Regions from separate parts of the Homo sapiens genome. Here regions 1, 2, 3, 4, 6 and 7 are each linked to region 5. Evidence: promoter capture Hi-C in 16 types of primary human blood cells and fetal thymus (Javierre and others, 2016). All regions are on one chromosome and are shown on one strand. Each heading gives the region's core, a stretch centred on a gene start or on the middle of the fragment in contact. The rest is flanking DNA. Distances are from core to core; before and after follow the strand shown.

What was found. The method cuts DNA at HindIII sites, captures the fragments that hold promoters and counts their contacts. A CHiCAGO score of 5 or more calls a contact.
Region 1: a contact is called between a fragment that was not itself captured here and the fragment with the promoter of DNAH2 in region 5, in 1 of 17 cell types (activated CD4 T cells). The highest score is 5.2, in activated CD4 T cells.
Region 2: a contact is called between a fragment that was not itself captured here and the fragment with the promoter of DNAH2 in region 5, in 7 of 17 cell types (activated CD4 T cells, endothelial precursors, erythroblasts and 4 more). The highest score is 8.4, in activated CD4 T cells.
Region 3: the fragment with the promoter of TMEM95 here is called in contact with the fragment with the promoter of DNAH2 in region 5 in 1 of 17 cell types (M2 macrophages); the score reaches 5.5 in M2 macrophages.
Region 4: a contact is called between a fragment that was not itself captured here and the fragment with the promoter of DNAH2 in region 5, in 1 of 17 cell types (endothelial precursors). The highest score is 5.3, in endothelial precursors.
Region 6: a fragment that was not itself captured here is called in contact with the fragment with the promoter of DNAH2 in region 5 in 3 of 17 cell types (activated CD4 T cells, naive CD8 T cells and naive CD4 T cells); the score reaches 6.5 in activated CD4 T cells.
Region 7: a fragment that was not itself captured here is called in contact with the fragment with the promoter of DNAH2 in region 5 in 2 of 17 cell types (megakaryocytes and M1 macrophages); the score reaches 5.9 in megakaryocytes.

Annotation. Positions count from the first base shown.
Region 1 is chr17:8,101,036-8,104,127 of GRCh38, reverse strand. ALOXE3 (arachidonate epidermal lipoxygenase 3) reads left to right here. Exons shown (of 16, transcript NM_021628.3): 14 at 1-13; 15 at 635-805. Among named protein-coding and RNA genes, the nearest start is that of MIR4314, 15 kb to the right of the region's middle. The HindIII fragment of the contact is 4,448 bases long and covers 1-3,092 here.
Region 2 is chr17:8,016,957-8,020,106 of GRCh38, reverse strand. The region is part of intron 19 of GUCY2D (guanylate cyclase 2D, retinal); the gene reads right to left. Among named protein-coding and RNA genes, the nearest start is that of GUCY2D, 16 kb to the right of the region's middle. The HindIII fragment of the contact is 1,311 bases long and covers 1,235-2,545 here.
Region 3 is chr17:7,353,788-7,357,112 of GRCh38, reverse strand. TMEM95 (transmembrane protein 95) reads right to left here and starts at 1,957. Exons shown (of 7, transcript NM_001320436.2): 1 at 1,740-1,957; 2 at 1,471-1,527; 3 at 1,195-1,275; 4 at 1,064-1,084; 5 at 837-917; 6 at 634-721; 7 at 1-514. The coding sequence starts at 1,908. The coding sequence ends at 481. KCTD11 (potassium channel tetramerization domain containing 11) reads right to left here. Exons shown (of 1, transcript NM_001363642.1): 1 at 2,169-3,325. RefSeq lists enhancers at 1,363-1,889, 1,890-2,416. The HindIII fragment of the contact is 23,288 bases long and covers 1-3,325 here.
Region 4 is chr17:7,987,444-7,990,599 of GRCh38, reverse strand. No RefSeq gene overlaps it. Among named protein-coding and RNA genes, the nearest start is that of GUCY2D, 14 kb to the left of the region's middle. The HindIII fragment of the contact is 8,340 bases long and covers 1-3,156 here.
Region 5 is chr17:7,716,037-7,719,199 of GRCh38, reverse strand. It overlaps DNAH2 (dynein axonemal heavy chain 2), which reads right to left and starts at 1,456. Exons shown (of 86, transcript NM_020877.5): 1 at 401-1,456. The HindIII fragment of the contact is 13,987 bases long and covers 1-3,163 here.
Region 6 is chr17:8,060,953-8,064,165 of GRCh38, reverse strand. No RefSeq gene overlaps it. Among named protein-coding and RNA genes, the nearest start is that of ALOX15B, 24 kb to the right of the region's middle. The HindIII fragment of the contact is 6,181 bases long and covers 1-3,213 here.
Region 7 is chr17:8,119,928-8,122,940 of GRCh38, reverse strand. HES7 (hes family bHLH transcription factor 7) reads left to right here. Exons shown (of 4, transcript NM_001165967.2): 3 at 511-598; 4 at 904-2,349. The coding sequence ends at 1,370. It overlaps TRL-TAG1-1 (tRNA-Leu (anticodon TAG) 1-1), which reads left to right and starts at 2,546; the gene lies at 2,546-2,627. It overlaps TRR-TCT2-1 (tRNA-Arg (anticodon TCT) 2-1), which reads right to left and starts at 2,016; the gene lies at 1,929-2,016. RefSeq lists silencers at 761-870, 1,091-1,550, 2,491-2,700. The HindIII fragment of the contact is 3,122 bases long and covers 1-3,013 here.

The DNA of each region.
Region 1 (3,092 bases), core at 431-2,930, 380 kb before region 5:
CAACAGTGGGCAGGTGAGGCTACAAAGGGCAGGCCTGGGGACATCAGGTCTCAGCAATGGACTTGAGGCCTGAATTTGGGTTGAGAGCTTGGGTGGGTCAGCGTTGGGGTGGGTTTATGATTAGACTTGGGGTTGGAGTGGCAGCTGAGTGGGGTGAAGGGTTGGCATTGGGTGATGACTGGGTGGAGCTGGGTCCAAGGTTGTAATGGTGATTCAAGTTGATGTTAATTTGGGAGAAGAACTTAGGGGCTCCTCTCATGGTTAGAACCCAGCCAGGTGGAGTAGCAGCTTGCTCTGTGTGGCATGGCAACCCAAGGCCCTTTTCTAGGATTACCTCCACTCTGGGGCCACCTCCTTCCCTAGTGACTCACCCCACCGAGTCCTGGAACACTGGGCGGGGAGTGACAAGGAGTAAGCTGGCTTCCTGCCCCACTTCTGGGACTTTCCACTCCCTACCCTTTCCTCTCTTGCCTTTCCATGATCCCCTCATTTCCCAGCTCTCTTGCCTTTCCGTGATCCCCTCATTTCCCAACTATCACCTCTAGGACGGCAGAGGTGGAATCAGGGATGGTGAAGAGGGAGGTGATACTCCCCTTCTGGCCAACTGACCCAACTGGGATGGGGGTCTCCACAGCATGACTTTGGGGCCTGGATGCCCAATGCTCCATCATCCATGAGGCAGCCCCCACCCCAGACCAAGGGGACCACCACCCTGAAGACTTACCTAGACACCCTCCCTGAAGTGAACATCAGCTGTAACAACCTCCTCCTCTTCTGGTTGGTTAGCCAAGAACCCAAGGACCAGGTGTGTATACGGGATGTTGAGGGGAGTAGGGTTCTTTAGGGCCACCAGTAGGGGTGGTGGTGGCTTCGTCTGGGGGCTTGAGGACTGATCGACGGGATTTATGTTCACTGCAGAACTGCCTTGGGTTCTTCAATTTCTTCAGAAAATGATAATCCCAAAAGACATAGACTGAAGCAAATACCAGTTTAGTTACCAATCTGTCCGTCCATCCATTTATCCGAATGTTCATTCATCAACTACTCATGTGTTAATGCAAACATTCAATAAACATTTGTTGGATACTTCCTATGTGTCCACACAGCACTGGGCACCAGGCCTATAACGCTGGCTGAGACCTTCCTGCCTTCAAGAAGCCTGTGGTCTAGTTGAGGAGACATACAGGTCAATGAAAAAGGGCACCACCGTGTTGTAGGAGTTACTTATATGTTAATTTCTCCATTCAACACACACTTCCTGAGTACCAGTGGTGACCCAGACACTGTTATGGGCAGCTATGAAACTTGTCCATGTGAGCTTACAGTCCAGTGATAGGGGTAAGGACAGGGCCCTGAGGAACCTAAATGGGTCTGGGGGAACCCAGGAAGGCTTCTTGGAGAAAGTGACATCTAAGTTGAAATCTGCAGGACAAGTAGGAGTTGGACAGAGAGGAAGAGCAGGGCTCTTTTTTAGGGAGGGGGAAGAACAGGACCAAGGAGCGAAGGCGAGAAATCACTGGTGTGTTTGTAGGATCACAAATGGAAATAGCAGAGCGGAGAGGAAGGTAGGGCTTTGTCTGCACAGTGTTCGTTTAGAAGACAAAGGGTAGCCAATCAAGGCTTCCCCCACCCCCCCACATGGAGTCTTGCTCTGTCACCCAGGCTGGAGTGCAATGGTGCGATATCAGCTCACTGCAACCTCCGCCTCCCAGGTTTAAGCGATTCTCCTGCCTCAGCCTCCCGAGTAGCTGGGATTACAGGCACCCACCACTGTGCCCAGCTAATTTTTGTATTTTTAGTAGAGATGGGGTTTCACCATGTTGGCCAGGCTGGTCTCGAATTCCTGACCTTGTGATCCACCCATCTTGGCCTCCCAAAGTGCTGGAATTACAGGTGTGAGCCACCGCGCACGGCCGCCAATCAAGACTTTTAAGCCTGAGGCCCAATGGTTAAATCTGCTTTAGCTAGGGTGCTCCTGTGGCTGCGTGAATGGATGCAAAGGGCAACTTTGGAGGCAGGAGGCTAGAGAGGGGCCAATATCTGAGTTTAGGCCAGGCAAGTAGCCCTTTATCACTGGTTCCCATCATCTTTGTTTCCACCCAGCCGTCTTGCACACAAGCTCTCTAACAGGTGAATATTCTTATTTCTCACGCTTGACTCCCTTTGGTGCTGGAAAGATTCCAGATGTTGCTGGGCACAGTGGCTCGTGCCTGCAATCCCAGCACTTTGGGAGGCTGAGGCCGGTGGATTGCTTGAGCCTAGGAATTCAAGAGCAGCCTAGGAAACATGGTGAAACCCTGTCTCTACCCAAAACACAAAAATTAATCGGGCGTATTAGTGTGTGCCTGTGGTCCCAGCTGCTTGGGGGGAGCTAAAGTGGGAGGATCACTTGAGCCCAGGAAGTAAAAAAATGCAGTGAGCCATGTTCACGCCACTGCACGCCAGCCTGGGTGACACAAAAACAAAAAACAAAAAACAAAAAAACAACAAAAAAAGAAAGATCCCACATATTTGATCTTCCTGGCAAGTTTTAACTTGCTACCTTATATCCTGGGAATGGCAGGACTCTGGGTCCTGTCCCTATCTGGTCCCAGAGGGATGACAGATAAGTAGACAACAGCATGAGGGTGGAGGGCTCTCTCCTATAAACTATAGAAAGTTTAACTTGGAAATTTATAACAACAATAATAATGGCAGCTGTCACTGAGGAGCCATCATGTCTCAGTTATTAAATCAGATCCTTTGTGTACATGATTTTAAAATGTGAACCAAATACATAGCTCTATTTAAAATGCTTGGCAGCCAGGCGTGGTGGCTCACGCCTGTAATCCCAGCACATTGGGAGGCCGAGGTGGGTGGATCACCTGAGGTCAGGAGTTCGAGATCAGCCTGGCCAACATGGTGAAACCCCCATCTCTACTAAAAATACAAAAATTAGGTGGGCATGATGATGCATGCCTGTAACCCAGCTACTCAGAAGGCTGAGGTAAGAGAATCACTTAAACCCGGGAGGCAGAGGTTGCAGTGAGCTGAGATGGTACCACTGAACTCCAGCCTGGGCAACAAGAGTGAAGTTCCATCTCAAAAAAAAA
Region 2 (3,150 bases), core at 641-3,140, 300 kb before region 5:
AAAAAAAAAAAAAAAAAGGCGCCAGGTGAGCCCCGGGACACGCTGTAGAGTCTCTGCCGTGGGATTGAAGCAGCAGCTATGAGAGGTCCCTGCTTTGGCCATCACTGCTCTGCCAGCTACAGAGCCATCTCCAAGGCAAGGACAACCGCAAGTGTGGGCTCCTGGCGCAGGCCAGCTGGCAGAGGTAGTGTAAACACATCTGAAGGTGGGGGATGCCCAGTGACCAAGCCAGGCCCCGGTGCTCTCATGCGCTGGGAGTTGCCCAGGCCACAGGAACAGGGTGGGGAGGACTTGAGTCAGCAGAGCCCTGAGACTGGATAACCGACTGGGTCCAGGAAATAAGATTTCCAGAGAAATGGTGGAAACTGCAGAGAAAGGCAGACAGAGACTGCCAGGCAGAAAGGGGACTGTGGGGACACAAAGACAGGAGAATAGAGCAGAAAGGGAGGCAGGAACAGAGAAAGGAGAGGCTGAGGCACAGAGAGGAGGCTGAGGCTTCATCTTTTGCCTTCTCTTCTCCCACTAGATCTGTGAACTCTGGGGTGGGGGTTCCCCAAGTTCTTCTAGCTGGGGAGGGGTCAGGGCTCTTCTATCACATCTGGTCACTTGAGCTTGAGGCCAGCCTGGGAAGGAGGCTGAGTGAAGGTGGGAAGGAACTGGCTCAGCCCTGCCCACTCCACTTCTACCTTAAACTGGGTCTGCCCTCTGGCTCATCCGCCTCTGCTTCCGGGAGGAGCCCTGCCTAAGCCTGTCCCAGCTAATCCCTCTGCACCTAATCCTGGACTCTTCCTTGAGGCAGCCGAAATCACACACCATTAACTACTCCAGGCCCTTGCAGGCAGGGAGAGAGGGAAGGAAGGGGAAGGGCTGCAGGGTCGGGTACGGGAGGGAAGAGACAGGAGGCTGAGAGCTCTATCCACACAGTCAGGTCCAAGGCCAGAGATGTGAATCTGCGCTTCAATCCCTGGGACCTAAGTACAGAGAAAATCTTAAGGAAAATCTTCAAGAATGTAAATAACTTTTAAAAATGTGTGTGTGTGCATGCCCGGGTTTTGTTTTGTTTTTAATCTTTAATTCATCGTATTTAAATTCAATTTAAAATGTTTTTAAAATTGCACTAAATTGCTCTCTGTAGCAACATCACCTTCGGTAACCAGAACTTACAAGTGCTGGATTCTCGATGTTTGATACATTCTTCCTTCACCTTTAGGAAGGAGGGGAATACCACTAAGCTTGTGGAAGTCATGAATCAGTTTAAAAAAAAAAAAAAGAAGGCAAAGTCCCGTCCAGGAGCCCCTGTAATCCTAATACCTGCTAAGGAGTCCTAAGCTCAATGTCTACAGGCACCAGGCAGGAATATAAAGGAATGTTCAAAAAATCTTGGTGTCTCGGAGTCTGTGGGGAGTGGCGACATCTGGATAAAGGGGACTGTTGCTGTTTAGCTGCAGCAGAATGTGGTTAAGTGGTGACACAAGCACCATGTGGGGCTTCTGATTTCAAGAGAAGGGGGAAATCTGCTATACATTTTTAAAATGTGGAAGCTGTTGATTTTTAAATGTTAGCTCAAAACAAAACACTCTATAGGCCAAACAAAAGAAATTTGGTGGCTAGTTTGTAGCCTGGCTTTATGAGATCTTAGAGATTCTAAGATTTAAAGATCTTAGGGTGATTTAGTTCTATGATTCAGAAACTTTAATGAGCGTGTCAATATTTTGTAGGAACTTGTTAAAATGCAGATCCAGACTCAGCAGGTCTGGGGTGGGGCCCTGAGATCCTTCATTTCTAATGAGCTCACAGGCAGTGCCGACCCTGGCCCACCAACCACACTTGGTGTAGTGAAGGTTCAGTTCCGGAATTCCCTCTCACTGTCGTATCCCTGGTCAATGATGTCTCCAGTTCTGCCTTCACACCTCCAGGGACTGGACACTCACTACCTCTGGTGGCAGCCTAGGTGGTTTCCTAGCCTGCTGCAAACTTCTTCCAGGGTCTGTAGCAATGGTGACAGACACCAAGAGTCAAATGTGCCAAGGCCCAGGCTCTGGAAGGTCAGAGTTTCACAAAGGCAACTTCAACTGGGGACTTGCCAGGACAGGGCATTGATAATTGCTGCAAAGGTCAGGCGCGGTGTCTCACACCTGTAATCCCAGCACTTTGGGAGGCCAAGGTGGGCAGATCACTTGATGTCAGTTCAAGACCACCCTGGGCAACATGCTGAAACCCCATCTCTACTAAAATCACACAAAAAAATTACCCGGGCGTGGTGGCGGGTGCCTGTAATCCCAGCTACTCGGCAGGCTGAGGTAGGAGAATCACTTGAACCTGAGAGGAGGAGGTTGCAATGAGTCGAGATTGTGTCACTGCACTGCACTCCAGCCTGGGTGACAAAGTGAGACTCAAAAAAAAAGAAAAAATTCTAAGCAGAGAGGATTTTCTGTCCAACTGCTTGCTCAGCAGCTCCTAGTTAAACAGAGAATGCCGCTCTTTGGATGTTCTGGTCAGTCAAGGTGTGGCACAATTTCCTTTCCTCAAAGCATTGAAGCAAGCTTTTCTCTGCACTTGGGCAAGTTCCCTGATTATACCCACAGGAGAAGCAGCCAGTTTCTGACTGGTGGGAGATGGAGATAGGAATGAAGCTTGAGGCTAAACAGGAGCCCTTGCCCCCTCAGGCCATGTGACAAACCCTGCTCTGGTGGAACAGAACTCCACTTCCTCTGGGGTCGGGCATCAATCCCAGATCCTCCTTCCTGGGTCCCTGAGAGACACTGGGAAGCGGAGAATCCCTGACCCTCACATCCCCTGCTGGACTCAGGGCTCCTGGGGGTGAGGGCCACAAGCCACCCAGCTGTCAGGTGCACAGGGGCCTTGGGAACCACTTAGGCCACCCCCCATTTTGCCACTGAAGGGATCACAGCAGAGCATGCGTGACACTTTCCCAAGGTCACATGGCTGGTTTTGCAACCAGCTCTTGTAAAAGGCCCAAAATCCTTTGAGGCAGAGCTGGGCAGAGTCCACCAGCATTAGACAGACTTCCAGTCACCTATAGCAGCAACTTTCAGGAAAAGGACCTTCCAGAACAATCCTGAAGAAAAGAGGGGTATCTCAGAGGGGAGTCGAGGAAAGGGGTCATGGGGGTTCACCTAGGAAGGAGCG
Region 3 (3,325 bases), core at 708-3,207, 360 kb after region 5:
CTGATGTGATCTCACTCTAGTGGGGTGAGTTTTCCAGAACATGCATTCCCGGATTCCCCATCAGTCATAGGAGGGCCTGGAATAGCTTCTGGGGCAGATGCCCCCGCTTTCCCGGAACAGGCAGAAGGGGGTGTGGGTGTGGTGGGAGTGGCGTAGGGGATTCTTTCCTTCTGTAGATATTTTCCTGGCATTGTTGACAGCCATGTGATTGGTTGAGGGCTGGAGGGGAGGAACTTTCCAGCTGTGGGTGCCTGGGTTCCCGGGAGGCCATCTGACACTGGGATTGTGGGGGATCTGGGTTTTTGGGGATTTTCTTGTTTTTCATTATCTCACCAACCAGAAGCAGGGATGTCTGGGTTTTAGGGTCTGGAGACTGTCTTTGGAGCTGGGACTAAGGGGCTGACTGGTTCCCCTCCAAGGGATGTGGAAGTTGTGAGTGCATACCCCTTAGAGCTGGAGGCTGGGAGGTTTTCAGCGTCTTCACAAGCCACTTTTTGCTTGGAGGTGGTGGGACCTGAGGGAAGACGAGGGTGGGAAGCCTACGGGAGGGGCCTGGGAGGGACAGAGGGAGGGAGGATGGGTGGTGGAAGGCACTGGGCGGGGTAGGATTCCTGTCTTTATCCCAAAACTCACTCCACCAGGAGGCTCAGAACACCCAGAAGCAGGAAAGCTCCGAAGATGGAGAGGAGCAGAATCTTGGCTTCCCAAAGATCCTGACTTCCTGCAGGGAACCCAGGAGGCAGTGAATGATTCTGGGACCCACACGCACCGACTTGGGAGCCCAAGGGCTCAGGGATCTGGGCAAGGTGGGGCGGGGCCAAGATGGGCGTGAGGACCTGGGAAGCAGCGCTTTCGGGGCCAGCAGGACACCTCCGTCCCCTTGCAGGTGGAGCAGTTGTACAGCGTGGTGCTGCCCCCTGCAGGAGACAGCAGAGGCAACGCTGGGGAGGGGAGGCCGGGCCTCCACCCTGCCTGGTACCCAGCTTCCTCCTGCAGCTGCCAGGCCCTCCTCTGACACCCTGCAGGCCCCAGGTCCTTGCTACCCCTTTCCTTTCCTACTCACGGCAGGCGGGGGGACAGAGAGCTGAAATGAAAGACAAGGAAGGGGTGGGGGTGTGAATGGATGAGCTGCTCACCACACATTCCTTTGGTTAAGACCCTAGGCTCCCCTTGAGGCCCATCCCGCATCGGTACCTTCCCTGGTGTACTCAGGGAGCTTGGTCTTTCGAAGCCAACTCCAATATGAAGGGAGTGAGGAGACAGCCTCTTTGATTTCTGGGGAGGCAGACAGCAGCTCCGTTTCCCTGGGCCTCGACGGGGCCAGTTCCCCCTCTCTTCACGCAGCCCCTCCCTGATCAGCCCTCCTGTCTCTACCCCTCCACCCTTCCCTGCCCACCCCAACCCCTGTCACCCGTCCCTCTCCTTGGTATCCTCCCAAGCCCCTAGGTCACTCTTTCCCCTTGACCTCACCCATGACCCTCAGGACTCTGTGAGTCTTCTCTGTGACTTTGTTCATGGACACCTCATCTGTGGAGATGGGCAAGGACCAGCGATTCCCTCATCAGCCCAGGTTCTGGGGTCTCTCCTGACTTTCCCAGATATGGAGCTCTCTCAGAGGGAAAGGCCAGCATGTCCAGAAAGGGCCACAGATGGAGGGCACAGCTGGAAGGTCACATGCCACCCTCTGGGGGTAGGGGGGTGAGTGCTTGCTGGGCCCATCCCTGGATGTCTGGTCCTACCTAAGGCAAAGGCCGAGAAGTCTGGGGAGGCCCCACATTCCTTCTGCCTGGCCTCCATCTGGCTGCAGAGCCGAGCCAGGCGGCCTGACAAGTCGTGGGCTGGGAGGCGACAGAAGACACAAGCCTGGGCGGCTGCCAGGAAAACCCCGCCTAGTGCCAGCCTCCACATGAGGACCACTGGGGGATGGGGCGGCGCTGCCCCAGCTGAGCCGAGGAATGCTCTGCAGCCCTGGCTCCAGCCCTTGCCTGGAGGTTCTAGAATGTTCCAGAACAATGAACAATGGCACTGCCCATCCTCAGCTGGGGTAAAGCTGGGGCTCAAGGAACTGGGGTCCAGAAGGCATCTCCAGCAGGCGATGGGCAGAGAAAGCAGGGCTTCTGTTGTGAGGGGACAGCACCCCCAACCTGGCCCTCAACAGCCTTCACAAGTTTGTGGTTCCAAAAGCAGTTTTATTTTTCTTCTTGTAAATCATGACCAGTGAGAAATAATGTGTGCCCCACCCCCCACCAGTGAAGAAGCTGTGCGTGAGTATCCCACCCGCTCTGGGACCCAGAAATCCCATCCCTTCCCATCTCCTCCCCCACTGTCCCAAACTCTTCGTCTCCTCTCTCTGCCCTGGGCGGCCTTGGGCCTTCCCCAGCTATCTCCTAGCAACAGGTCCATGGTTGCCTCAGCAACCAAGAGTTCCATACAGGCCTCAGAGGCCCAGCTAAGCCCAGTGACTTCTCTTACCTCTCACCAGGAAGATCCCAGTGACTCAAACCCCAACAGGCCCCTCCTGGCTACGTGGTGATGCATATACATGCGTGCACATAAACACACACACACACACACACACACACACCCTGTGATTAAACTACTAATTGTCAACCACCTCACAGGTATACCACAGACACACCCTGTGCCAGAAGAGTCGCTAGGCAACCCCAAACAGGCCTGGACATGCGGACATCACAGACACTGTAGTCAGCAACACAGATATGAACCAGGATGCCAGGGACCTATACATCAGTCAGCCACACGGGCTGATATGCACGCACACATGAAGAAAGGCCAGGACCCACAGATACTACCCTCTTCCCCCTGGCCAGCCCTGCCATCAGTATGGGATTCTTCCAGATGAGGGATGCTCCAGCCCCATTGCCATGGGGACTGTCCTAGCTCCCATACATCAACCTAGGGTGGGTTGTGGCCTTTCTGCCTCCCTCAGTAGATGGCTTGGAACATAGCAAAGAACTCCTCTTCCGATGTTCCAGAGTGTTCTGGCCTCTCATTGGTCAGGCCAGGCCAGGCCACCCAGCTTCAGGAGTAGAAGCCATGGTCCAAGAGACCGCATTGGGAAAATGCAAAGTCCTCCCTTTTCCCCAGACCTCAATATCCTTCCAGGGTTTTGCTAGGTCTAGTCTGGGTAAAGAGATGTTCCCCCCTTTTCCAAGCCCTTAAACACTGAGCTCCAAATCAAGGAGAGACTGGAGGTGCTCAGCCTTAGGCAAGAACAAGCTGAGAGAACCTTCCCTACCCCTCCCAGGGTCAGCACAGGTTGAGACCTTCTGGACCACTTGTGAGTCCTTGGTGGGCTCAGGTT
Region 4 (3,156 bases), core at 607-3,106, 270 kb before region 5:
TAACCACCTTTTTCAGGAGGCGGTAGGGCCTTACTTCGGGGTGATTGTCCGTTGACTCTTCACCCTGGGGAGTGGAGCTGGAGGCTGACGCGCTTGGAGGCTGGTGTGGGCTCCCTGGTCGTCCGCATGGATCATCTTTTGCTGCCTCCCCTCTCCTCTTCCGCCGACCCCCTCAGCTACCCCGTCTTGGTGCTAAGTGGATGCAGATGAGACAACGGGCACGTTTCCCTGCAGGGACCGGCTTAGCCGCCAGGGGGAGCCCCAAGGATAAGGCGCGAGGCGGCCGGGGCTCAGGTTGCGCAGGCACCGAGGGCACCTGGGCTCTTCCGCCCCCTGCTCTGTGAAGGCCAGGGTGCGGCAGGGCCACCCTCCCCGGAGTCTCTCTTCTTCTGGCCGCAGCGGGTAGACCGCAGAGTGGTCCGGGTGCAGCGGCGCCCGGGCAGCTGCGGAAGTGGCAGGGTTGGGGTGGCGGCTGGAGCGCCACGCGCGTTCCCTCTCCCGCTTCCGCACCCGCTTCTGCACCAGCCTCGGGCAGTCAGTCCCCCGGTGGTTTAGTGATGGAGGAAGCGAGGCGCGATCGGGCGGCGCTGGACATTCCTCAGCCCTGAAACCCTGATGCCCGGGGCCCGCTGCTTAGAGCTGGGGCTGGGCGGAGCTCTACTGGGGAGACCTTTCCACCTTCCTTTAGGGAGCCCCTCCTTTGCGCTGGGTGCTCAGCTCAGCACTGCGTGACTTTGCTCTCAACGAAGAACACATTTCCTCAAATTCCTCAGATTTTCAGTTCTGTTAGTAACATTCTCTCCAGCTTTATCATTTGCTGGAACAGATTTTTTTTTTTCCGAGACCGAGTTTCGCTCTTGTTACCCATGCTGGAGTGCAATAGCGCGATTTCGGCTCACTGCAACCTCCGCCATGCGCTAGCATGCCCGGCTAATTTTGCATTTTTTTTTTTCAGTAGAGACGAGGTTTCACCATGTTGGTCAGGCTGGTCTCGAACTCCTGACCTCAGGTGATCACCCACCTCGGCCTCCCAAAGTGCTGGGATTACAGGCGTGAGCCACCGCTCCAGGTCGGAACAGTTCATTTTTTAAACTGTCATACAATTACTTCTTTCTGATCATTTCCATGACGTGTGGGGAGAAAAGAGACAATTGTGGGGTACAATCCTTGAAACCAGAAATCAATGAAGTTATACTTGACCGGATTTTAACATTCTTCCGCATTATGGTTTTGTGTTTCCTCCTTTCTTCTTGTCTCTTTTTTGATAATTATAAACATTGATTCCTGGCTGGGCACAGTGGTTCCTGCCTGTAATCACCAGCATTTTGGGAGGCCAAGGCGGGAGGATCATTGAACCCAGGAGGTCGAGACGGCAGTGAACCTGATCACACCACTGCACTCCAGCCTGAGCAATAGAGCGAGACCCTATCTCAAAAAGAAAAAAAAAAGAGTCCTAATGATCTAGCACATTCTACATTCACTGCTTGATTCTGGGACATGTTTCGTTGGGGATTATAGTTCTGAATTACAAAGTATTACCGGAATGGGCTGTGATCAGGATTATAAATAGCAGCAATTACATGCTTTTTGAACTAGAAAAGATGTTCTAAATTGACCTAGATATATACAGACTATTGGGACACGTGGTGGATAAAAATTAAGGCCTAGTAGCTGGACTCTAAAAAACAATGTTTTCCACCAGGGGGAGCTGTAGACTATGTCTGAAGGTATTCAGATTCATGTCTTTGTCTTGTGCCACTTTTAAACGTGATTCTCCTGAATGGTACGTTCAGTGGGACCACAATACTAACCAGGCTAAGGCAGAAAGGTTGAATGGGTTCTTGTAACTGGAAACCTGAGCTACAGCGCTACCTTCAGGCACAGCTGGATTCAGGCATAGATGCCGCAGGCCTCAGGCTTTGCTCTCTTCTATGCTGGGCTTTATCCTCCCAAAGGCCCTCCCCTCATTGTGGCAAAACGGCTGCAACAGTGCTGTCCTTCATCCTCCCAGACTTAAATCCAACCAGCAAAGACCCCACTTACCTAATGGCTTCCACAAAAATCCAAGAGTCTCTTGACTAACTGGCCTGCCTTTGGTCGGATGTCCACTCCCGAGTCCATCTCAGTCACCAGGCAAGGTGATGGATTGGCAGGGCCTGGCTCACACCAGGCTGAGGGTGTAGCCAGTTTAACCTAGATGACAAGGACTGAGGGGGACAGGGAGAGGTCTAGAGGCAAAATCAGGCTCTGCTGCTGGAAGTGGGTGAATGGGTGCTGGTGCTGCCCTCAGAAAACATACAGAGAAGGAGGCCGGGTGTGGAGGCTCACACCTGTAATCTCCGCGCTTTGGGAGACTGAGGTGGGCAGATCATCTGAGGTCGGGAGTTTGAGTTCAGCCTGGACAACATGGTGAAACCCCATCTCTACTAAAAATTAGCCAGGTGTGGTGCAGGTGCCTGTAATCCCAGCTACCCAGGAGGCTGAGGCAGGAGAATCGCTTGAACCTGGGAGGCGGAGATTGCAGTGAGCTGAGATCGTGCCATTGTACTCCAGCCTGGGCGACAGAGCGAGACTCTGTCTCCAAATAGAATAAAATAAAGTAAAATAAACCGTACAGAGAAGGAGAAGGTGACAACGTAAGGCAGATGGAATGCACCATCGGGAGGTGGGGGCGCGACAAGGGATGCAGAGCATAGACTACGGGATCAGCTCCACACAGGAGAAGGGACCTCTTAGCTGGCCGTTGTGCTGGGTAGGCAGCCTGAATTAGTGACTTCAGAGGGGAGGCAGCTCTGGGAGATGACACAGTGGGGGTTTGGTCCTGTGACGTCATGGCTGAAGGAGGTAGAGGAGAAGCATGTGACACGAGGAGTTCGGGGCGCTCAGAGGCCAAGCTGATGGCTGGATTGATCTTGGGGATGGTGAAGTCACCAGAATGAGAAGACTGGGAGCTGATGGAGAAGAGGGTGTGCCCACTGCTCAGTGAATGATGGCATTCACCAGGGATGGGGGCGGGGTGGAAGAGGTGAGTGGCATGGCCCTCAAGGAACCACTGGGAATGAGGACACTGACCCCAAACCTCTCAACTCTGGGGTGTGTGGCGTCTGGGAGGAGCCTGTGAGCAGAGCCAGATCTTGAGTAAAGAAGGAGGTGGAG
Region 5 (3,163 bases), core at 207-2,706:
GCCAAGATCATGCTACTATACTCCAGCCTGGCTGACAGAGTGAGACTCTATCTCAAAAAAAAAAAAAAAAAAGATGGCCAGACACCCCACTAATGAGGATTTAGAACCTCTATCTCTGCCCCGGGGTATGAGAACATAAGATAATCAGGAAAAGATCTATCAAGCTGAAGTGTGGTTGCCCAAACCCTCATCCACTCTACCCTCCAGGACCATGAGTGAGTGAGAGAGGATCAAGGAAGGGGTGCACATCCCCCATCCTTTGTCACTGTTCAATCATTCAAGCAAACCAAGATGATTTTCCTATGTACCTCTTTTCCTCCCAAGTTAAATGGAAATATGCTCCTCCCAATCCCACTAAAATCTGCAACATCTGTAAACAGAGAAAAACAGTATTTGCCACCTGGGTCTATCGCTTTGAAGTCCTGAGGGGCAGGAACACTGTTTTGTGTGTACTGAGGTCTCTTAGCAGAGTTGGCTGAGGAACTCTGTGCTAATGGTTAAGATCAGTCAGGATCATTTATTTGACTCAAAATGCCCTGAGAACAGATTGGAAGAAAGAAGGACAAAAGTCATCCAATCATAAATTTCAAATTGTGTCATGAGGAAAAAGCAATTGGGGCACGAGGAAGGTCACAGTGGTGCCTCTCTCAGAAAGGTAGGATGGCAGGAAGCGGGGATCTCGGACAGGTGCTCAGAATCCCAGGCGCAAAGTCTGAGGCGCTGGGCACTCTCTTTTCATTAGGCTGCAGCCTAACGGCACCTGTGGCTCTCCTTCCTCATCCCCACAGGCTGCCACAGGCATTGATCTCAGGTTATGAATTTCAAACTTGAAGGATTTGTACTTTGCTCCAAGGAAAAACGTTCTGTTAGGCCAGCAAATCAATAAAACCAACTACAGCAAGGAGGCTTCCTCCATCAGTCTCCAGAGAAGCATCAAGCTGCGCTTTCCTGCCTCAAACTAGAGCCTGAGGCGCATGCACCGTGGGGTTCACCACGCGATCCCACACCGCAGGCCCCAGGAGGAACTGCTCTGCTAAGTCGGGGCTCACTCTAGTACTAGGAAATACCGCAGGGGCCAGCAGTATTTATCCTGCAGTATAAATCCAGCAGTATTTATCCAGCAGTATTTATACCAGCAGCTGGTATCCTTAAACTGGTTACCAGCAGGCAAATTTCCCCTCAGAATGGCTCTTCCCCCCCAGCTGTCACAACTGCCCCTTCTCCTCCCCCTCCCCCACACAAATATTCCTTGCTCCCTCTCCCTCCACAACTGCCTCTTCTCCCCAACAACTGTCCCTTCCTACCCCGACACTACTGCCCCTTCTCCCCAGCACTCCTTCCCTCCTTCCCTCTGCCCCCGACACACACCTTGCCACGCTGACCCTCCCCTCCCTAGACCGACCGATGGGCCACTCTAAGAAGTTGCCCCTCGCAGCCCTCTCGGGCCGGCGTCTGCACGCGTCCCCATGGCAACCCCGGGCAGGGAGGGGCGAGTGGCCGGTGTGCGGCCCCTCGGAGCCCGCCTCCTCCGCGCAGGCGCCCTGGATCCCTGCTTCGCGGCCCCACCCCGCCCAGGTCTACCCCTCAGGGACCCAGGGCTTGAAGGCTCCGGGACTAAAGGAAAGTAGCCACATCTGGCGAGCCGAAGGGTGCGGGGGGCCTGGTGTCAGGACCCAGCTGGAAGGGCTGGGGCGAGAGACAGTGAGCCACCGCCCCGCAGGACATTGAAAAGGCAGGGAGAACCCAATCGCCCGACCCCGCGCCCAGGTCTGTGCGCCCCAGCCGGAACGGGTCCAGCAGATGGCGCCGGGCGCCAGGCCGGCGAGGGATATTCGCGATGTAGAAGGCGTTCCAGGATTTCCAGGCAGCCGTGGGTGCAGCTGGATCCGGGGGAAAAACCGGGCCTGGAGCACCCTTGCCCTCCTGCTCCTTCCCCCTTCTTAGTTCGGATTGGGGTCTAGGATTGCGGGGGGGCGGCGCGGGGCGGGGAAAGGGAGGGAAGACGGGAACTGGAGTTTTGGGAATCTGAGGATTGGCTTTCGAAGGCATCGCTGGTTTTTGGGGGGGATGAGAGGCGGGGACTCCCTGGGGAAGGTGACCGGGCCTGGGAGGGGCTTCGCTCTCCATAGGAACAAAGGCTGCGTCGTGAGAGAGGAGGCGAGAGGGGAGGGCTATGAGGGCCGGGGTACATCTCCGAGGGTGCCAGGGGGCGCTGCGGGCCGGGGCTGCTAGAAGGCGCCTGGAAGACCGCTGTACCTGGTGCCGGGAGGAGCTTTGGGGAGACCTGGGAAATACAGGGAGGAAGCCGAGTGGGGGGATGGGAAGGCGCCCTCCCTGTTTCCATCAATAGTGCCTAATTAAGACAAAGCCAGCAGCGAGCCCACTGATTACATTTCCATGAGGAGCGAAATTTATGACATTTTCTTTGCTGGATGAGGAGAAGAGAAGCTGGCACCTCAGTTCCCCCATTTTCTGTTTGGCGTTCACACCTAACAGATCTCATTATGCCAGCCTGGCACTACCAGGAGTGGCAGTCCCTGGTACTCCTGAAGAGCAAGTGGATTAACCACACCCTATCCCAGCGCTGACCTCACCCTCCCACCTACCGTATCTTTATTCCCAGAAGTGTCAACCCTTTCCCTCCCCCCGACCCCCAATAATTCCTCCTGCCCAGCCAGACTCCTGTTGCTGACAGCAGGAATGGAAGGAGAGGAGTACCGCCCACCCCAAAACCAGCTGCACAGCTAGCACAGCTAAGATGGAACGTGGAGGTGTTCCTCTAGCCAGATAGGCCATGGGTGGCAGACAGAGGTGATGTGGTTGGCCAGAACCCCTAGGGAAAAGTCCCAAAGGAGTGAAAATTTGCTGGAGGCGTGGGGTGGGGAGCCTCAGGGGCAAGGTTCATGGGTCCCTCGGGGAAAGGAACTTTGCACAGACCCCATTTCTTTTCTTAAACCCCCCTCCCCAACTGTGGCTGTGCCTACGGATCCCAGCCCCCCACATTATGCTAAATAGGTAATCAAACATCTCGCTTTGCTAATTACTGCTCAATCCGATTAAACGCTGCTGAAGCTCATCAACAGAGGTGGAGGTAGGGGGAAGGGACGAAGGCGGGGCAACCACAGCTAGCTATGATGGGGGTCTTTTCCCCAGGGGCTCTTCG
Region 6 (3,213 bases), core at 96-2,595, 350 kb before region 5:
AGCCTCAGCTGGACCCAGCGGCAGACCCCGGAGTCTGGGCCGGACCTAGAGGGGGCGAGGCAGCGTGGCGGGGGGCGGGGGGCGGAGGGGGTAGGGGTGAGGTGGGGGAGGCGGGGAGGCCGGCGGGGGGAGGGGTGGCAGAGGGGAGGGGAGGCGGGGGACGCCTTGTGCAAACGCAGCAGCAGCACCTGGCCCGAGTCCTCAGGGAGCGTCACCTGGAGGTCTTCCTTTCGGGGGGCGGGGGAGTGGGCAGAGGGAGAAGGCATAGTAAAGAGTGGCTTATTACCTTTTGTTCCCCAGGACGCTTCCCCTTTCCACACTCTCATTCCGGAGGTCGCCATAAGCAACTTCCACAATTCTGGATGTTCCAGACCCACGACCGGACTAATTTTTGGTGGAGGGGGAGCAGTATCTTTATCTTCCCACTTTAATGGGTATGTTGATTCAAATCTTCTAACTAAAGTGGGGGGATTATATGGATCATTTCTATATTCGATCATAAAGGAGTCCCCAGCGCACCCAGCGTTTTGTCCGGTGCAATTTCTAGCAAAAGATTCCTTAGGAGCCCAGTCTATAATGACCCCATGAGAACCATTTCGCAAAACTACCGCATTATCTGCCACACAAACCTCCCAAGTAAGAATTTCTCATTTTTCTGACCATTCTGGATTCCTTTTAGGGCAAGCCAATCCCTTAGGCTTGCAATTTTGGACTTTTATATTTGACTGATAATAACTATCCCCTTAAGTTTTTACAGTCCTGATGGGTTGAAAAGACATTCCACTCACTACGTGATAACTAGGTTGAGAACGATTATGAGGAGGTACGTAGACCATCCAACTTTGTATTTGTAATGGCAAACATCCAGGAGCAATTCCTAAACAAACTGGAGGGTATTTATACCCAATTATCCCATTCATTAACATGCCCTCCTCCTCAGGCTATGCAGGACAGCTATCATAAGTCGGCCCAGGCATCCAGATACTACCATTTGTATAAACTTCAGTAGGGGAGTCCATCCAAGTGACAGGTCTAATCAAAGGAGGAAATGGAACATAAGCCCAGTAGTAAAATTTTGCTTAGCTGAAACAGCAGAGAGACTTACCGCCGTGGTGATTACCATCAAGGCAGCCAAGATCATATTACCCGGTGTAATCGCTAGTTGTTTCTCCTTTAGGGTGTCCTCTGCCAATTGAGTCAGCTTCTTTATCTGTCCCCATGTCAGTGGTGTAGCCTAGCGAGTCTTCTCCGTCTTCTGTTTTTTCTCCGAGACGCTCAGCTTCACCATTTTCCTCAGCTCCCGAAAAGACAGGTCGAAGGGACCGGTCTTCTTTCTCTTTTGATTCTTTCCTTTTTTCTGACCGGTCGGTGTAGGGTTCATTGTAGAATTTTAAATGTCTATTGGGTATCCAAATGAGTGTTTGATTGTCTCTTGGTGAAACACAAGGAAAACCCCTCCCCCAAGTAATACTTTTTCTTAATTTCCAAGTTTTGGTTCTGGTATCCTTCCACCAGACCATTTTTCCTTTCTGTGGCACACCCATGACTGCAAAACAAGATAATAAATGTCGTTTTACGTGAGCTGTGCTTTCTCCAGTTTGGCGTGTAGCCCAGATAAACCGAGAAAAAGTATTAACAGTAACATGTACGAAAGAAAGTTTTCCGAATGATGGGACATGAGTCATGTCCATTTGCCACACTGCATTTGGTTGAAGCCCCCTAGGGTTACCTTCAGGTTTTTGGGTGGGTAGCTGTAGCACTTGGCACTGAGGATGTTGTACTATATTTTTAGCTTGTTTCCAGGTAAATGAATATTTATTTTTTAATCCAGCAGCATTTACATGAATTAGGGAATGGAAGTTTTGAGCTTTTGTTCGCGTCTGTGTGAAGAGACCACCAAACAGGCTTTGTGTGAGCAACAAGGCTGTTTATTTCACCTGGGTGCAGGTGGGCTGAGTCCGAAAAGAGAGTCAGCGAAGGGAGATAGGGGTGGGGCCCTTTTATAGGATTTGGGTAGGTAGTGGAAAATTACAGTCAAAGGGGGTTGTTCTCTGGCGGGCAGGGGCGGGGGTTGCAAGGTGCTCAGTAGGGGAGCTTCTGAGCCAGGAGAAGGAATTTCACAAGGTAATGTCATCAGTTAAGGCAGAAACCAGCCATTTTCACGTCTTTTGTGATTCTTCAGTTGCTTCAGGGCATCTGGATGTATACGTGCAGGTCATAGGGGATATGATGGCTTAGCTTGGGCTCAGAGGCCGGACACTGTTAGAACAGGCGTCACTAATAAATTTGCTTGATTATTTAATAGGGTTAAAGGTCCTGGTAAGTTTGTGTGAGCCTAAATATGTGTAATATAAAAGGGAAAATTTTGAGTCCTAACTGCTTGTTGAAGTGAACTAAACAAGAAATTTAACTGATCATCAGAAATATGTTTTACTAAAGCTGTTTTTACCATTTTGGCAGCTTGGAATACGTAAGCAGAGTCAGAGATTATATTAACAGGTTGATTACAATCTTCCAATACAGATATAACTGCTTGTAGCTCAGCTCTTTGTGCAGAATGAAACTGAGTTTGAATAATCTTTTCTTCCGGTCCTGTATAAGCTGCTTTTCCATTCTGAGAGCCATCAGTAAAGATAGTTACGGCTCCCTCCAAAGGAATGGAACTAGTTATTTTGGGTAAAATTTAGGTAGTCAATTTTTAGGAACTGAAACATTTTAGTTTTAGGGTAATGAATATCTATACTGCCAACAAAATCAGCCAGATTTGACTGCCATTCTGACGAATTAATAAAGGCTTGTCGAACCTGTGCTTTGTTTAAAGGAACTACATTTTTATCTCGATCGGTGCCAATGAGTCTGACTATTCTCAGTTGTATTTGGCCTATAAGAATAGCTATTTGATCTAAATAAATTGAGAAAGTTCTAGTCGTACTGTGCGTTAAAAAGGACAATTTAACTAAGTCAACATTTTGAACAATCACTCCTATAGGAGAATGGAGAGTAGGGAACACTAAGAGCTGTAATGGAACACTAGGATCTCTTCTACGGACTTGAGCACTTTGAATTTTTTCCTCAATCATTTGTAACTCTTCAGCTGCAGCAGGCATCAGAGTTCTTTTGCTACATGAATTTGGATCCCATCTCAGCAAAGCAAACAGTTTAGACATTGCTTAGGTGGGAATTCCTAAAGTAGGTCTTATCCAATTAACGTCC
Region 7 (3,013 bases), core at 304-2,803, 400 kb before region 5:
AACCCTGGCCCCAAGGCATCCTCACCCGAGTCCCGCCTTTGGAATTCCATCCCAGACCCCCACTCGCTCTCAGAACGCGATCTTCTTCGCCACCCCTCGGGTCTGTAAGTTTCACGCCTGGTTCTGTAAATTTCGCTCCCGGGGTCGGTCAGTTTCACCCTTTGGGTCTCTAAGTGTCCGGTTCCCCCTCCCCCACAGCCAGCCTCTGATGAGCCAGCCTCTGTTATGTCGGGTGGTTAATTTCATTCCCTGGGTTGCGGTTTCAAATCTCCTCCTCACGCGTTGGGCATTGGTTCCAACCCCTAGGATTGGACAGTTTCGTCTCAGGGTGGGCCAGGACTTTCCTTGGTCATCTCCACTCCGCATTTGGTCGCGCGTTCTGTGGGCAGTGCGCAAATGCGATCGGGGGCACCACCAGCTCCCGCATCCGTCCCTCCCTTCTTCCCCCTGCCACTTTCCCCCTTTCTCCCCACCCCTTTCTGTCTCTGCGCCCTCCCCTCCCGTCTGTAGAACCTCCGGAACCCGAAGCTGGAGAAAGCGGAGATATTGGAGTTCGCCGTGGGCTACTTGAGGGAGCGAAGCCGGGTGGAGCCCCCGGGTACAGCGCGGGGGTGGGGCAGCGGAGGGAGGGAGGGGGGACGCCAGGAGGCTCCGGCCGGGGCAGAGTGGGCGGGCCCTGCGGTGGATGGTGGGCTTGGGGAGTGGCCGGTTCTGCTCCGAGGCGAGGTTAATAACACCCGCGCGTGTCTGTCTCTGTGTCTCCCTCATTTTCTCCCTCTTTCCGTCCATCTGGCTTCCTGTCTCTGTGCGCCTGTCCGGCCTTGGTATCTCTGCGCCCCGCCCCTTCCCTCACCCCTGCCGGGCCCCTGCCCTGCCCACCTGTGCTCCCGCCGGCCGCACCAGCCGCCGCGGCTCCAGGGGTTCCCCGGTCCCCAGTCCAGGACGCCGAGGCGCTCGCCAGCTGCTACTTGTCCGGTTTCCGCGAGTGCCTGCTTCGCTTGGCGGCCTTCGCGCACGACGCCAGCCCGGCCGCCCGCGCCCAGCTCTTCTCCGCGCTGCACGGCTATCTGCGCCCCAAACCGCCCCGGCCCAAGCCGGTAGATCCGAGGCCTCCAGCGCCGCGCCCATCCCTGGACCCCGCCGCACCGGCCCTTGGCCCTGCGCTGCACCAGCGCCCCCCAGTGCACCAGGGCCACCCTAGCCCGCGCTGCGCATGGTCCCCATCCCTCTGCTCCCCGCGCGCCGGGGATTCTGGCGCGCCGGCGCCCCTCACCGGACTGCTGCCGCCGCCACCGCCGCCTCACAGACAAGACGGGGCGCCCAAGGCCCCGCTGCCCCCGCCGCCCGCTTTCTGGAGACCTTGGCCCTGAGCCTTGGGGGGTGGTGGGGGCGGGGTCTAGGGGTGGGGTAGAGACTCCAGCCCGAGGGCAGCAGAGGGACCCGGGCGTCCGGGCGAGCAGGTGTTGGGGAGGGCAGTGGGGCGCGCGGGCTCAGCGCGCGGGTGAGATGTGGTCTATATTAGAGTATCTATATAAATATATATTTCCCTGGTTCCTGTCCCTTTTCCCTGCCCCAACTTCTCCCTTGCGTCTAGGATTGTACTCTCTCTGCCCCTCAGCCCAGTCCCAGTCCCTTCCCGAGTCCCTAGTGCATGGAATAAAGTGGTTATTAAATCCCCGTGTGTCCCCGAGCCAGGGGCCTGCCTTTATCTCGACGTCCACGCCCACTTTCCCTTCCCTTCTGTCTCCCACCCTCAGTCCTGCTCTCCATGGCCCAAGCCCCGGGGCAGACAGGTAAGTAAAGAAGAGAGCAGAGCGGGAACTGAGATCGAAATTGAAACCAGGTGGAAAGAGAGAGATAGGGTAGGGGGAGAAGGGATGGGGGCCTTTAAGAAAAAAACGGATAAAAAGGAAAAATTGAAATAAAATCGACTCTGGTGGGATTCGAACCCACAACCTTTGAATTGCTCTATTCGTCACTAGAAGTCCAATGCGCTATCCATTGCGCCACAGAGCCACCCGACGAACGGCGGCGTCTTGTAGCTTACGGGTACTAGAGTGGGAATGGGGCAGGGTTGGGGAGCGGGGCTAAGGGACTTGGGCGGGACATGCCAGGAGGGCGCGGTTTGGATCTCAGAGGCCAAGCCAGGTAGAGGTAGCGGGCGCAAAGCATGTTAGCCAGGTGAGAGAGAGGGCGCACATGGGTCGAAAAAACAGGGAGGGAGAGCAACCGAAAATGGCTGAGCGAGCGAGTGCAGAGCTCCGGCTGCCCGCTTGGGGGGTGTTTCCGGCTCAGGCGCTCCCCACTCCCAGATATAGTCCCACCCAAATAAACTAGTTTTGTTGTAAATTTCTGTGTGTTTTTGTCTCTTCTCGTTTATCTGTTCTGCCATCTGCTGCTATGCGGTCCACAGTCTCGATGGTTCTTCATTTCCAGTCTAAAAGATGTGGAAAAGGAGACGAATCAATTTGGCACTCTTAAGATTTGCCCCATTCCTTACTTCTAGTCTCTTAGGAGGACAACGGGGACAGTAAGTTTTCGTGCAGGTAGCGTGGCCGAGCGGTCTAAGGCGCTGGATTTAGGCTCCAGTCTCTTCGGAGGCGTGGGTTCGAATCCCACCGCTGCCAGGCTGGAGTTTTTCTGGTGGATTACGCACCTGCTACAGTTCTGTTAACAGTTCTGTGAGGTTACACCTATTTACATGCAGAAAGTAATTTTACGAATTCCCCTGGTAATGGTTTCACCATCATCTTCCGTGTTTGGTCTTCCAGAGAGATCATAGGCCTGCATCCATCCCAGAAGCTAAGACCTGATGGTAACTGCTGAAGCAATATTTCGTTTCTTCATAACATCTCTATTATTTCGTTTCTTCATAACATCTCTATTTTAACATGTTTTCAAATGTTAGCTCAACTTCCAACATATTTAAATAATTTATTGTACGTTCTCTTAACACTGTGTTATAGGACTCAATTATCCGGTAGGAAAAGCACAAATAATTGGTAGTGTCCTA